Regions from separate parts of the Homo sapiens genome. Here region 2 is linked to region 1. The links are contacts of gene promoters, found by promoter capture Hi-C in blood cells and fetal thymus (Javierre and others, 2016). All regions are on one chromosome and are shown on one strand. The core of a region is centred on a gene start or on the middle of the fragment in contact, and the rest is flanking DNA. Distances in the headings are between cores, read along the strand shown. Region 1 holds the start of MAK16 (MAK16 homolog). Region 2 overlaps LOC105379380 (a long non-coding RNA gene).

Region 1 (6,412 bases), core at 2,898-5,397:
TTTCTTCCAGCTAGTCATTACATTTACAGAGAGAGGTTCTTTTTTTTTTTTTTTTTTTTTTTTTTTTTTTTTTTTTTTTTTAATGAGATGGAGTCTCTGTTGCCCAGGCTGGAGTGCAGTGGCGCAATCTCGGCTCACTGCAAGCTCCGCCTCCTTGGTTCAGGCAATTCTCCTGCCTCAGCCTCCCAAGTAGCTGGGATTACAGGCGCCCAGCACCATGCCCAGCTATTTTTTTTTGTACTTTTACTAGAGACAGGGTTTCGCCATGTTGGCCAGGCTGCTCTCAAACTCCTGACCTCAGGTGGTCCACCTGCCTCAGCCTCCCAAAGTGCTGGGATTACAGGCGTGAGCCACAGTGCCTGACAAGATTTATAGAGAGAGGGTCTAAATTCATTCCTGCACATCTCTTCCTTTTGGGGAGCTCTGTGGTTCTGCTAAAACAACAACAAAAAACTATGTATTTTTCTTCTCCTTAAATGGTTTATTCCTCTGATTGTATACAAGCAAACACACATGCTTTACAGATGAGCAACTTTATTAGGTTTAATCCTCCAACAAGCTGCCTTCCACACTTCAGGGTTTCGTGTGTGTGTGTGTGTGTGTGTGTGTACACTTCATAGGAAACCTGACTCTGCCCAGGGTTAGCTCTGGGAAAAGTTGCTGTGGGAGTGGCTGAAGGTGGCAGAGGCCTGGAAGGTAAGACAACGGAGACCCTGTCTCTAAATAAATAAGTAAATAGAGACCTAACAACTAATTTATTGTGAATTTATTATGTACCAGGAACTGTACAGGAGATTGTGGATAAAGAAATGAAAAGACATCATCCTTAATCTTGAAAAGCTCAACGTTGGCCTGGCTTGGGCGCTCACACCTGTAATCCCAGCACTTTGGAAGGCCAAGGTGGGCGGATCACCTGAGGTCAAGAGTTTGAGACCAGCCTGACCAACATGGTGAAACCCTGTCTCTACTAAAAATGTAAATATTAGCTGGGCATAGTGGAACACGCCTGTAGTCCCAGCTGCTTGGGAAGCTGAGGCAAGAGAATCGCTTGAACCCAGCAGGTGGAGGTTGCAATGAGCTGAGATCGCACCACTACACTCCAGCCTGGGCAACAGAGTGAGACTCTGTCTCAAAAAAAAAAAAAAAAAAAAAAAGAAAAGAAAAAAAAAAAACAGAAAAGCTCAAGGCCTAAGAGATAATAAACCAATAACAATAATACAACACTAGTGAGGAATACATAGTGCACTGTGGTAACAGAGGAGAATGCGGGTATGTATAGAGAATGTTGAAATAGCATTACATTTTCTTATCTTTTCTTTTCTTTTTTTTTGAGACTGAGTTGCGCTCTGTCACCCAGGCTGGAGTGCAGTGGTGCGATCTCAGCTCACTGCAACCTCTGCCTTGTGGGTTCAGGCAATTCTCTGCCTCAGCCTCTCGAAGAGTTGGGATAACAGGCACCCACCACCACGCCCGGCTAATTTTTGTATTTTTAGTAGAGACAGGGTTTCACCATCTTGGCCAGGGTGGTTTCGATCTCCTGACCTGCTGATCCATCTGTCTTGGCCTCCCAAAGTGCTGGGATTACAGGTGTGAGCCACCGCACACGGCTAAATTTTCTTTCATTCTTCTTTTGAACTGGAGATTACTTTTTGTTTGTTTGTTTTTTTAATGAGACAGAGTCTCGCTCTGTCACCCACGCTGGAGTGCAGTGGCGGGATCTCGGCTCACCGCAAGCTCTGCCTCACTAAATACTACATAATATCATGATAAATGCTTTTAAACTTTATATCAAATTTCTCATGTGTTTCAGTTGCAGTCAAATCCAGGGTATCCCTAGGGTGACCCCAGTGAGTCCCACTCCCTGGTGTTCATGTCTTGTATCTTCTCCTCCCCTCCAGTGAGGGTGGCACCTGTGACTTGATCTAACCAATGGCATAAGGCAAAGTCTATGGAAAGTCACTGCCATAATTTTTTAAGATTATTTAAGATTATTTAAGATTAACATTATTTAAGATTCTGTTTTAGCAGACTGGAATTTAACTCGTTGCTGGCTTGATGAAGTAAGGAGCTATGTTGAGAAATCCCATGTGGCAAGAAGCCACAGGCAGCCTCTAGGACCTGTGGGTGGCCTCCCGGACACACGCCATCCTTACTGAGACTGTGTCCTTCTTACACTTTTGTTATTAAAATGGTCTTGTTACTGGAAAGTGGTCCCCAATCAGACCCAAGAGAGGGTTCTTGGATCTTAAGCAAGAAAGAATTTGAGGTGAGTCCATAAGTTTCGTAAAGTGAAAGCAAGCTTATTAAGAAAGTAAAGGAATGAAAGAATGGCTACTGCATAGGCAGAGCGGCACCGAGGGCTGCTGGTTGCCCATTTTTATCGCTATTTGTTCATGTATTTTTTGAGACTGATTCTTGCTCTGTTGCCCAGGCTGAAGTGCAGCGGCTTGATCTCAGCTCACTGTAATCTCTGCCTCCCAGATTCAAGTGATTCTCCTGCCTCAGCCTCCCAAGTAGCGGGGACTACAGGTGCCCACCACCACGCCTGGTTAAGTTTTGTATTTTTAGTAGAGATGGGGTTTCACCACGTTGGCCCGTCTGGTCTTGAACTTCTGACCTCGGGTGATCCACCTGCCTCGGCCTCCCAAAATGCTGATTACAGGCGTGAGCCACCAAGCCCAGCCTATTTATTGATTATATGCTAAACACGGAGCGGATTACTTACGCCTCTCCTTTTTAGACCATATAGAGTAATTTCCTGATGTTGCCATGGCATTTGTGGCGCCAGTGGGAGTGTAGCAGTGAGGACGACCAGAGGTCAAACTCATTGCCATCTTGGTTTTGTGGGTCTTGACTGGCTTCTTTACTGCAATCTGTTTTATCAGCAACATCCTTATGACCTGTATTTTGTGCTGACCTCATCCTGTGATTTAGATGGCCTGACCCTCGGGAATGCAGCCTAGCAGATCTCAGCCTTATTTTACCCAGCCACTATTCAAGATGGGGTTGCTCTGGTTCAAATGCCTCTTGACAGTCTTTCTTTCCTTTTCTTTTTTCTTTTTCTTTTTTTTTTTTTGAGAGGTAGTTTTGGTTGTCACCCAGGCTGGAGGGCCACAGCATGATCTCGGCTCACTGCAACCTCCGCCTCCCGGGTTCAAGCGATTCTCCTGCCTCAGCCTCCCAAGTAGCTGGGATTACAGGCACCTGCTACCACGCCCGACTAATTTTTGTATTTTTAGTAGAGACGGGATTTCACTATGTTGGCCAGGCTGGTCTGGAACTCGCCCGCCTAGGCCGCCCAAAGTGCTGAGGTACAGGCGAGAGCCACCGCGCCCGGCCCGGCCGACAGTCTTTCTTCTATAATACGATACAAACTAGTAAAGATTTTCTTTTTCCCCTGGCGGAAAAGAGCTGTTAGGCTTCCAGATTTGTTTTTGTGGGTTATTAGACCTCTACTTTTCTTCTTGGTATTTTCCCTCCCTTATCAACTTTGTTTGTTGTCTCAAATAGGCAATGAGGAAGACACAGGTGTTTATTATTATTGGAATGCTCTTTCCATTTGGTCAGTGGTTTCTCAAAGCAGGAGGAATTCAAGTTCTGAGTTTCTAAAGTCAGGACCCGGTGCCGCACCCAACGTGGGCGTGGGGAGTGGCTAAGTCAGGGTCTGAGGGGCAGGGCCGGGGCCTGGCTGCGAGCTGGGGCCGGGGGACTCGGAGGAGCGGGGACCCAGCCCCGCCGCGCCGCCTGCAGCTTTCCCCAGCCTCCTCCCAGCAGAGGGGAGGCCCGACAGGGAGGGGTCCCATCCTCATGAACGGTCACAAACAGGGCGCTAGGGAAGCACGCCCGACCCCCGCGGTCCCCGCGCTCCAGGATTCGGCAGACTGCGCGCGTCCTGCCTCCCGCGGATCGCACTGGGTCCCAACAGGGTTCCCAGCTCCAGGCTGCGCCCATGAACAAGCCCAGCATTGCGGACGGGCGCGCGCAGACGCCAGCGTGGTGAAGACGCGGGGGCGCGCGCGCGGCGACGAGACTGCCAGGGGACGCTTCGCAACACCGAGAGTCTCAGCGTTTCTCGAGATAGGTGAGGCTGCGCGTTCCGGAACTGGTTTCCCGGAAGGAGCATGTCTGCGCCCGCGATCCGACCGGAAGTTGCACGCTGAGCCGCGGACACCATGCAGTCGGATGATGTGAGTCTCCTCCGGTTGTTCTTACACCCGGGGTTTGCGCAGGGAATTTTGCCCATTTTCGGACACTTAGAAAACGCGTACGCAGCGGGTCTGTTGCCTCGTGCCGCTCTGGATGTGAGGCTTCCGGAACCCCGATTTTCCAACATAGGTTCTCACGCGTGTCTAGCAGGGGTTTACTGCCCGCTGCCCCGGCCGGGTTGTGAGCACAGGACTCCGTCACCTCAGCCCATGGGGTCGATGTGTCCCGTCCTTCGTGCCTACCAATGCAGGACGTCGCGTCATGCTGTCAGCTGTCAGCTGTCAGCTCCGGACTTGGGGTGGGGGGCGGCCCGGGATTTGGCGAAGCTGACTCCAAGTTTAAGCGTCCTTCTCATCCATGTGCGCGTTACTCTTCCATCTGCGTTTCCTGTGTAGGCTTTTCTTTACATTTGCTCTACTTCTGCCTAAGTCATAATTTCGGAAGTATCCTAGATTCATTCATTGAGTTTTTTGTTGGAGAAATAACAGTGTGCTTACAGTGTGCCAGGCATTGTGGTAATTATTGAGGATTTGGTTAACCAGAAAAAATGTCCCACCTCTCCTGGAACACTGATGGGGGAGACACAGTAAACAAGTGAACAAATAAGTTAACAATTACACTATATAATCATACTATGAAAGAAAGACCAGAGATGATGAAGGACACTTCAGATAGGGTTACTCAGGGAAGGTTTCTCTGAACAGAAGATGTTTGAGTTGAGATCTAAAAGATAAGAATAAGCCAGTCACTGAGGAGCTGAGGAAAAAGCAATCCAGGCAGTAGGAACAGTAAAGTACAAAGAGTTGAAGATATGAGAGAATGAATATAAGGGTCATCAAAGTGACAATGTAAGACAGGTAATGAAATTAGATATGCTTGCCAGGGCGAGGTCATGCAGAATCTTGTAGGAAGTGTTTTTTAGGCCTTTTAATGATCTATGTTTGTGAAAAGTTGTCTAGTTGCTGTGTGAAGGACTTTTGGAGGGAAAAAATGAAAGCAAGGAGACTAGGGTATGACAAAGGTTGCTTCAAGCCAGACACAGTGGCTCATGCCTGTAATCCCAACGCTTTGGGAGGCTGGGGCTGGAGGATCGCTTGAGGCCAGGAGTTCGATTCCAGCCTAGGCAATAAAGTGAGACTCCATCTCTACAAAAAATAAAAAATTAGCTGGGCGCGGTGGTGTTCGCCTGAGGTCCCAGTTACTTCGAAGGCTGAGGCAGAAGGACTACTTGAGCCGAAAAGTCCGAGGCTGCAGTGAGCTATGATGGCACCACTGCACTCCAGCCTGGGTGACAGAGAGACCCTATCTCTAAAGTAAATAAATTTTTTTAAAAACGAAAGTGGCTTCGCCTAAGGTAGTAATTTAATGGTGGAGATGAAAAGAAATTGATGAATTTGAGACCTTTTACGTCAGTATAATTGACAAGACTTTGGTGATGGATTAAGTGAAGAAGAAAAGGAAGAAATCAAAGGATTTGGGATATAAATACATAGTTAAATGGTGATTTTATTTATTGAAGTGGGGGAACTCTAGGGAAGACTGTTCTTACGAGGGATGTGGAATTGAGAACTCCTTGTGGATATGTTAATATTTATGTTGCCTTTTAGATATTGAAGAGATGTCATATAAAAATCTGGTGCTCAGGAAAGAAGTCTGACCAGAAAATAACAATTTAGGAGTCATCCATTTAGAGATGATACTTAAAGCCACAAGCCTAAAAGAGCTCCCTTATTCTTCTTACCTGTTTCCTACCATCCCCCACCAGACACACCTATAAAATTCTTAAAGTGTGTTTTATTCTTTTGCCCTCTTCATATTTTTCCTTTAACAGTGGTAAAGCTTTTTTTTACCCCAGTTCCTCAAGGCAGCGCACTCAAAGGCTGTCATACTCTTACGCATGCTATGTGGCCTTTAGACCTGCTATTTTGTGATACTTTGTTTACATATCTTTCCCCTAACTAGATAGACGAAACTCTTTAAAGAGTATACTTTCTTTCATTCAGCAAATACTTAAGTGGCTACTGTGTGTCAGGACTTGGAGATGTCAGTGCCTTACATAAATTAAGTATATAATGCTGAATGAATAAAGAGCACATTAAGTACAGGAGGATAGCAGTAGATAGTTTTCTTTGCCCTCAATGAGATAAAATTATGGTATGTATATCTAAAAATCTAATACCATGAAGCCTTTTTTTTTTTTTTGGAG
Region 2 (6,412 bases), core at 2,412-4,911, 4.1 Mb after region 1:
AGTTAATGGTGGACCCAGTCTCAATCCAGGTTTTAAGACTCCAAGACCAATTGTCTTTCTACTATAATGTTGCTTCCATTTATATATTAAAGCCTCACCCATAACTCCTATTCCTGGCAAGACTGATCAACTATGCCTCCACCTCACAGAAAAAAAAAATTAATATTTAAGATATTTTTTTAAGCCATGAACTAAACTTGATGTAATGAAAGCTCTCTAGTGGGCATTAGCCAAACTCAACACTCTTTTGCCTTGCATGTGTAAGTCATTCCTGCAGAAACACCTCATCAAGAAGGCACCAAACCAAGGTGCCCCCCTCCCACCAGCCTTCCCAGACAGCTGCTGCAATGCTGACCTCATGTCTGATAATATAGCCTTGGCAAGGAAGCTGTGTTGCTCTTCGCAGACCCATTGTTGCTTTAAGGATCTATTTGGTTCAACTTAAAACAAAAATAAAGAAACAACTACCAAACTGTACTAAATTAAGAGGACAGAGAGTAATCCCACTGGATTTCACTTGGACTTGATGTCCCTCTTGAGACTGTGGGTGTCTCGTGGGAAGGAAGAATAAAGAGATCTGTCCTAGGAAGAGTCTAACATCACAGAATTTTAAAGTTGAAAGGGACTTTAAAGTTCAGCTTCTAAGAGCAGAGAATAATAAAGACAATGCTAGAAAGTACCTCATAGATTCCAAAGTCTTTTTACATTTCTCCATTGATCTTCCAGGCAATCATTTCAGGTAAGATATTATACTCCTTTTAGAGGCAAGGAAATCAAAACTCAGGCAATTTGCAGAGTTACTAGTGGTGGCCTCTTATTTCTGGGCCCTGGCTGGTTGAGCTAAATTCTAAGCTCTTTCTAGCACAGCACATTATAAACCACACCCAGCTCACGGGAGACACCTGAAATTTGTCATCACTAGTTCTCAAGGAGCTTTAGAGTCAGAGACAAGTAAGATTCTAAGAAACACAACTGTTAGCTAGCCAGATTCTTGGGCTAAAGAGTTATGTTTAGCCCAGGAGTCTGGCTGGTTCCATGCTGAATGTCTGGATTTTTACAGAGATGACCATGGGTTTGTAACACACTGCACTCATAGAAAGTATCCTCCTCAAATGGATTAATGGCATTCACAGCAACCTGGATAGGATTGGAGACTATTAATCTAAGTGAAGTAACTCAGGAATGGAAAACCAAACATGGTGTGTTCTCACTCATAAGTGGGAGCTAAGCTATGAGGATGCAAAGGCCTAAGAATGAAACAATAGTCTTTGGGGACTCAGGGGGGAAAGCATGGGAAAGAGGTGAGGGGTAAAAGACTACAAATTGAGTGCTATGTACTGCTTGGGTGTTGGGTGCACCAAAATCTCACAAATCACCACTAAAGAACTTACTCATGTGACCAAATACCACCTGTTCCTCAATAACCTATGGAAATAAAAAAAAATTGTTTTAAGAAGTAAACAAAGAAGCTATTTGATTACAGTTTAAAAAAAGAAAGAAAAAAAGAAAGAATCCTCCTCAGTCAGCCCTAACTCTGCAAGGCTTAACCACTCCAAGGTGCTTACCCACTTGGGTTGTGACCCAGGTCTACATTAAAACAAAGGTACAAAGTTAGTGGTGAACAAGTGGAATCTGCATAAAGCATGCATCCCTAGCATCCTTTGTAATTTCTCTCCGTAGATGCAAGTGCTGCCCTGATAGCTGCAATTAGGTTGGTGCAAATGTAATTTGCATAAAGTAATGGCAAAAACCTCAATGACATTTGTGCCAACCTAATAAAAAAGGTCCCACCTGTTCTCTTCAGCTGACTCCTAGGAAGCCACAGAACACATCTGTGGGAAGGTGGGTGCCAGAGGAAGGGCAGTGAACACACACAGCAGCAGATCCTGGAAAGGGATGGGAACATAGTGAAACCCCATCTCTACTTAAACAAATACAAAAACTAGCCAGGTGTGGTGATGGGCTCCTGTAATTCCAGCTACTCAGGAGGCTGAGGTGGGAGAAATCACTCGAACCCAGAAGGAGGAGGTTGCAGTGAGCCGAAAGCGCACCACTGTACTCCAGCCTGGGCCACAGAATGAGACTCTGACTCAAGAGAAAAAAAAAATTGCTTTTCAACCATGAGCTTTTTTGTTCATAGCCTAGCCCCAGAAAATGACAGGGATAAAGGAGATCTCTTCTATCTACACAAATGAGGAAGGAGAACTCAGAAAGACCACTCTCCCTTATGTTAAAAATGTAGCTGCTGCAAAGAACTTCCTTTTTCAGGATTCTCTTCCTCTGCACACATATTCTAGTTTCCACCATTACAAACTCTCCTCACTGGGCAAATTGAAAATAAGTAATGGTTTCAATACTGCACTACTGCCACTACCTTAAAAAGTATGGCCACAGAGCCACTTTGGTGGGCACGGCCGGCCGGCTGGAGGCAGCTTGGAGCTAAAAGCCAAACCCCAGGTAGCCACTCACTGCCTTTTCCTCCCCAAGTTTCCTGAAGTTCTGCTGACTGCACCCTAGAGGCCCCAGCTCTTCCTGCACATGCCATGAGCTCACACACAGCCCTGGGCATGCCATGGGTTTGGCATAAAGGGCTCAGCTAAACCAGTGGAGTTGTTCTTATGGCCAGGAGGACTGGGCCCGGCTGGCTTTCAGAGAAGCCAATCCACAGAGCTTGAGTTCCAACCATTCCAAAGCCTTTCCCTATAGCAATGGGACTGTGAACAGGCGATTCCCCTGCCTGCTGCTCCCTCTGCAATCAAAAGGAAGAAAAATATCTGGGCCTGGAAAAGTGATTGCCATAGGCTACAGCCCAGCACAAAACAGCAGACACCCAGACATCCATCAAGTGCAAGTATTGACATTTATTGACTGCAGACAGAGGCTACACTACGAGCTCGGAGGGTTACTGAGGATCAGCCTCAAAGGAAGCCCCAGAAATACCACATTACCTTTGCAGAACATTCTGCAAATCCTAGTCCCTCTGCAAGAGGGTTGGCCTGAACAGCACAACTATACCAGACACAACAGAATCACATCAGCCAAGACATAAATACATACCATTATCAAAGAAGGGTCCCTTCGCACAGTGGTTCTCAACCAGGGAAGTAACTCCCACTCACAGGGCATCTGGAAATTCAGGGAGTGAGGTTTGTGTTGTCAGAGGACCTGAGAGATGCTACTCGGGGGCAGGAACCCAGGATGCTAAGCTTCCAGCGATATAGGAGATCACCTGCATAAAGAACTGTCCTGCCATAAATGCCACTAGTGTCCTTGGTGAAGAAAACAGTATACCTACCATCCCTCAACCTTAATTCTCAGCCTGATTTTGTCTTGTCACCCTTGAATCAATTTCACATTCTCAAGCAACGCCCTGCAGTCTGGGGGACTCCTTAGCATACATGAGAGGGCACTGTGCTAGTCGGTATAGATGCCGTGGGACACAGTGGTTATAAGCATGGATTCTGGATAGCTTTCCAAGGTTAAAACCCTGTATGTGTGGATGATAATTTTCTCTTCCCTCATAGATTCATAATGAGGATTCAACGAGATAATGGGCCTGCAGGGCCGTGCTCAGTAAGTATAGTGATTTTTTTCTATTTGAGAAATTTTTGTCCAGGAATCTGGATTTAGATTTTTCAGTAGCAAACACAATGTGGTAAACTGAAATGAAGACTGGGATTTAGAAAATTGAACTTCAAACCCCAGATCTACTTGTTTTACCCATGAAATCACAGGTCAATCAGCTGACGTCTCTGAGCCCCATCTTCTCACATTTGAAATGTTCAGAATAACAATAAAGCCTTCACAGGGAGATTATGGGAATTAACCGAAAGGAGGAAGTGAAAGTGACCTGACTGCTACAGTGAGTGTCAAGCACCCATCACATGTTCTATGTGGAACCACCTAAAACAAGAGCATCACATAGTGTGTGTTTCCTCCTTCACTTAGGATGGCATCACTTCCTCTGAGATTAAAACTTATCAACACGATGACATATAGAAAAATGTCCAACCTCACTAATAAAAAAAGATGTATATTAAAATATCAGGAGATCATTTTCACACAACAGTGGCGAAGATTCAAAAGGCAGATGATAATCAGTATTGGTGAGGGAAACAAGCTTCTTTATATACACTGTGGGTGGGAATATTAATTGATACAATATTTCAAAAGACAATATCGCAAGATACACCAAAAATATGTGCGTGTGTGTTTGCATACATATATATGAAGGAAATAATTAGTGCTCACAAAAAACTGTATAAAATGCTTATTGCAGCATTCTTTACAATGGATGAAAATTAGAAACAGCTTAAGTCAGCTGGCATGGTGGCTCATGTCTGTAATCCAGCACTTTGGGAGGCCAAGGCAGGTGGATAACTTGAGGTCAGGAGTTCAAGACCAGCCTGGCCAGCATGGTGAAACCCTGTCTCTACTAAACATTTTTAAAAAATTAACCAGGCGTGGTGGCCAACACCTGTAATCCCAGTTACTCAAGAGGCTGAGACAGGAGAATAGCTTGAACCCGGGAGGCAGATGTTGCAGTGAGCCGAGACTGTGCCATTGCACTCCAGCCTGGGCAACAAAGCGAGACTCCCTCTCAAAAAAAATGATAATAGACTAAATGTTCTTTAATTAAGGATTGGGTCATTAAATAATGCCACATCCATACAACAGAATATATGCAAGTCATTACAAAACATAAGATAGAGCTACACATAGTCTCATGGAAAGATGTTTGAATTAAATTATCTTTAATGTAATGGTACATAACAAATTACTGGAGAGTATATGGGATGATCCCACTGTTGCAAGAACAAATACAAATATTTTATAGAAATATTACAAGGCCCTTAAGCACCAGTGGTAATCTCTGGAGAAGAGACCAGGGGTTGGGGGAAGAAAAGATTTTCAATTTATATTTAGGGGTACATTACAGTTACAGGTACATTATGGCTGAATGCCAAATGGCCAAGTGTTAAAGTTCAGCTGAAGAGGAGGCCAAAGCCTGTGCATAATTTTAAATACAAATTTTATTATTACAATTTTGAATTAGAGCTATAGTAAAGTTTTAAGGGCTGACATAGGGTGCAGAAACAGTTTTCTTGGGCCGCCAGCTTGAAGGGATAATCCAAGGCCCTTCCTGTGCCCATTTGAGTGACTGAGGGTTGATCACTTCCACCCATGTGGGTGAGGAGCAAGATGTTTGGAGGGAAGTCCCATTTTTCTCTAACAGCGTCTCTTTTCTTCATTTTTATATTCTCTTTTATGTCTGGATCAAGGATCATGTATCATGGATGCTGTATGCGATTTTGGAATGTTTCCTCTTTTTGAAATTTTAAGGCGGCAAAGTTGACATTCTGTCTTTTATTCATCCTCACAAGATGTGAAAGATTTTCAAATGAGACTTTTTCTTGAAAGATTTCTGGCCTCGAGGGAATTAAATATTTAAAAATGAAAAACAGCTCTGAAAGGTTGTTTTATTTAATGTCATGCATGTTGCTACAACAAATAATTCTGTAAAAATGAGATTTAATGACATCAGCTAATCAACTTTAATAAAAAGTTATTAAAAGTTATTTTTTAGGATTTTATAATAGTTTTGGCTCCCAAATAGGATACAAGGATATGTTTTCCCTAAAGTTGTCTAGCTAGCATTACTCCCCTATGACTCTAATTAAGTGCTGACTCTTCCCGTATTTATGTAACTATTTGAAAGTTCATCATAATTCCTGTACGTAAAAGTAACAACACTCACTTTCACAGTTATTGCAGCTCTTTAGTCTTGCAATGATTATAAATGCACATTTTAACTTCAACCGACTGATGGAATTTGATGGAATTTACAGCACAAAAGAGATTCCCACTCCAAGTTACACCTAGAGGATGTGCCTCTATTTCAGAATGAATGTTTTGCTATTAATAAATCTCAGTGCCATACCTTGTTCATATCACTGCTATGGTTATGATCATTAGATTCAATGCAATCACATACAAGTTCAGGGATGCAAGAAATGACATTGAAGTTGCCATCAACTATACAGCCTTCTGCAGGCCAACTCCAGAGCTGAAGCCAAATAGCAGATTTGAGACAAGTAGCAAGGCCAAGGCAGACTTTTCATGCATCCCTAACTTATTCTTGCCTATATTTTTTTTTACAAGAAGCATGTATTTTCATTATATCAAAAGGATACCTGCACTTGTGTGTTTATCACAGCACTATTCATAATAGCAAAGAAACGGAGTCAACCTAAGTGTCCATCAATGGAAAATTGGATAAAGAAAATGTGGTCTATGCACACCATGGAATACTATTCAGCCATAAAAAATACTATTCAGCCATACTATTTGCAGCAACTTGGATGGAACTGAAGACCATTATCTTAAGTGAAACAACTTAAACAAAGGCAAA

Evidence for each region. Contacts are between HindIII fragments. The CHiCAGO score rates a contact against its expected background, and 5 or more counts as called.
Region 2: a fragment that was not itself captured here is called in contact with the fragment with the promoter of MAK16 in region 1 in 1 of 17 cell types (total B cells); the score reaches 7.6 in total B cells.

The regions. Positions count from the first base shown.
Region 1 is chr8:33,481,035-33,487,446 of GRCh38, forward strand. It overlaps MAK16 (MAK16 homolog), which reads left to right and starts at 4,148. Exons shown (of 10, transcript NM_032509.4): 1 at 4,148-4,187. The coding sequence starts at 4,173. RefSeq lists enhancers at 3,304-3,940, 3,928-4,077 and silencers at 3,568-3,757, 3,968-4,155. The HindIII fragment of the contact is 3,746 bases long and covers 2,298-6,043 here.
Region 2 is chr8:37,627,922-37,634,333 of GRCh38, forward strand. All of the region lies in intron 1 of LOC105379380 (a long non-coding RNA gene), which reads right to left. LOC124901931 (a long non-coding RNA gene) reads right to left here. Exons shown (of 2, transcript XR_007060886.1): 2 at 4,734-5,430. Among named protein-coding and RNA genes, the nearest start is that of LINC01605, 31 kb to the left of the region's middle. RefSeq lists an enhancer at 3,754-3,803. The HindIII fragment of the contact is 914 bases long and covers 3,205-4,118 here.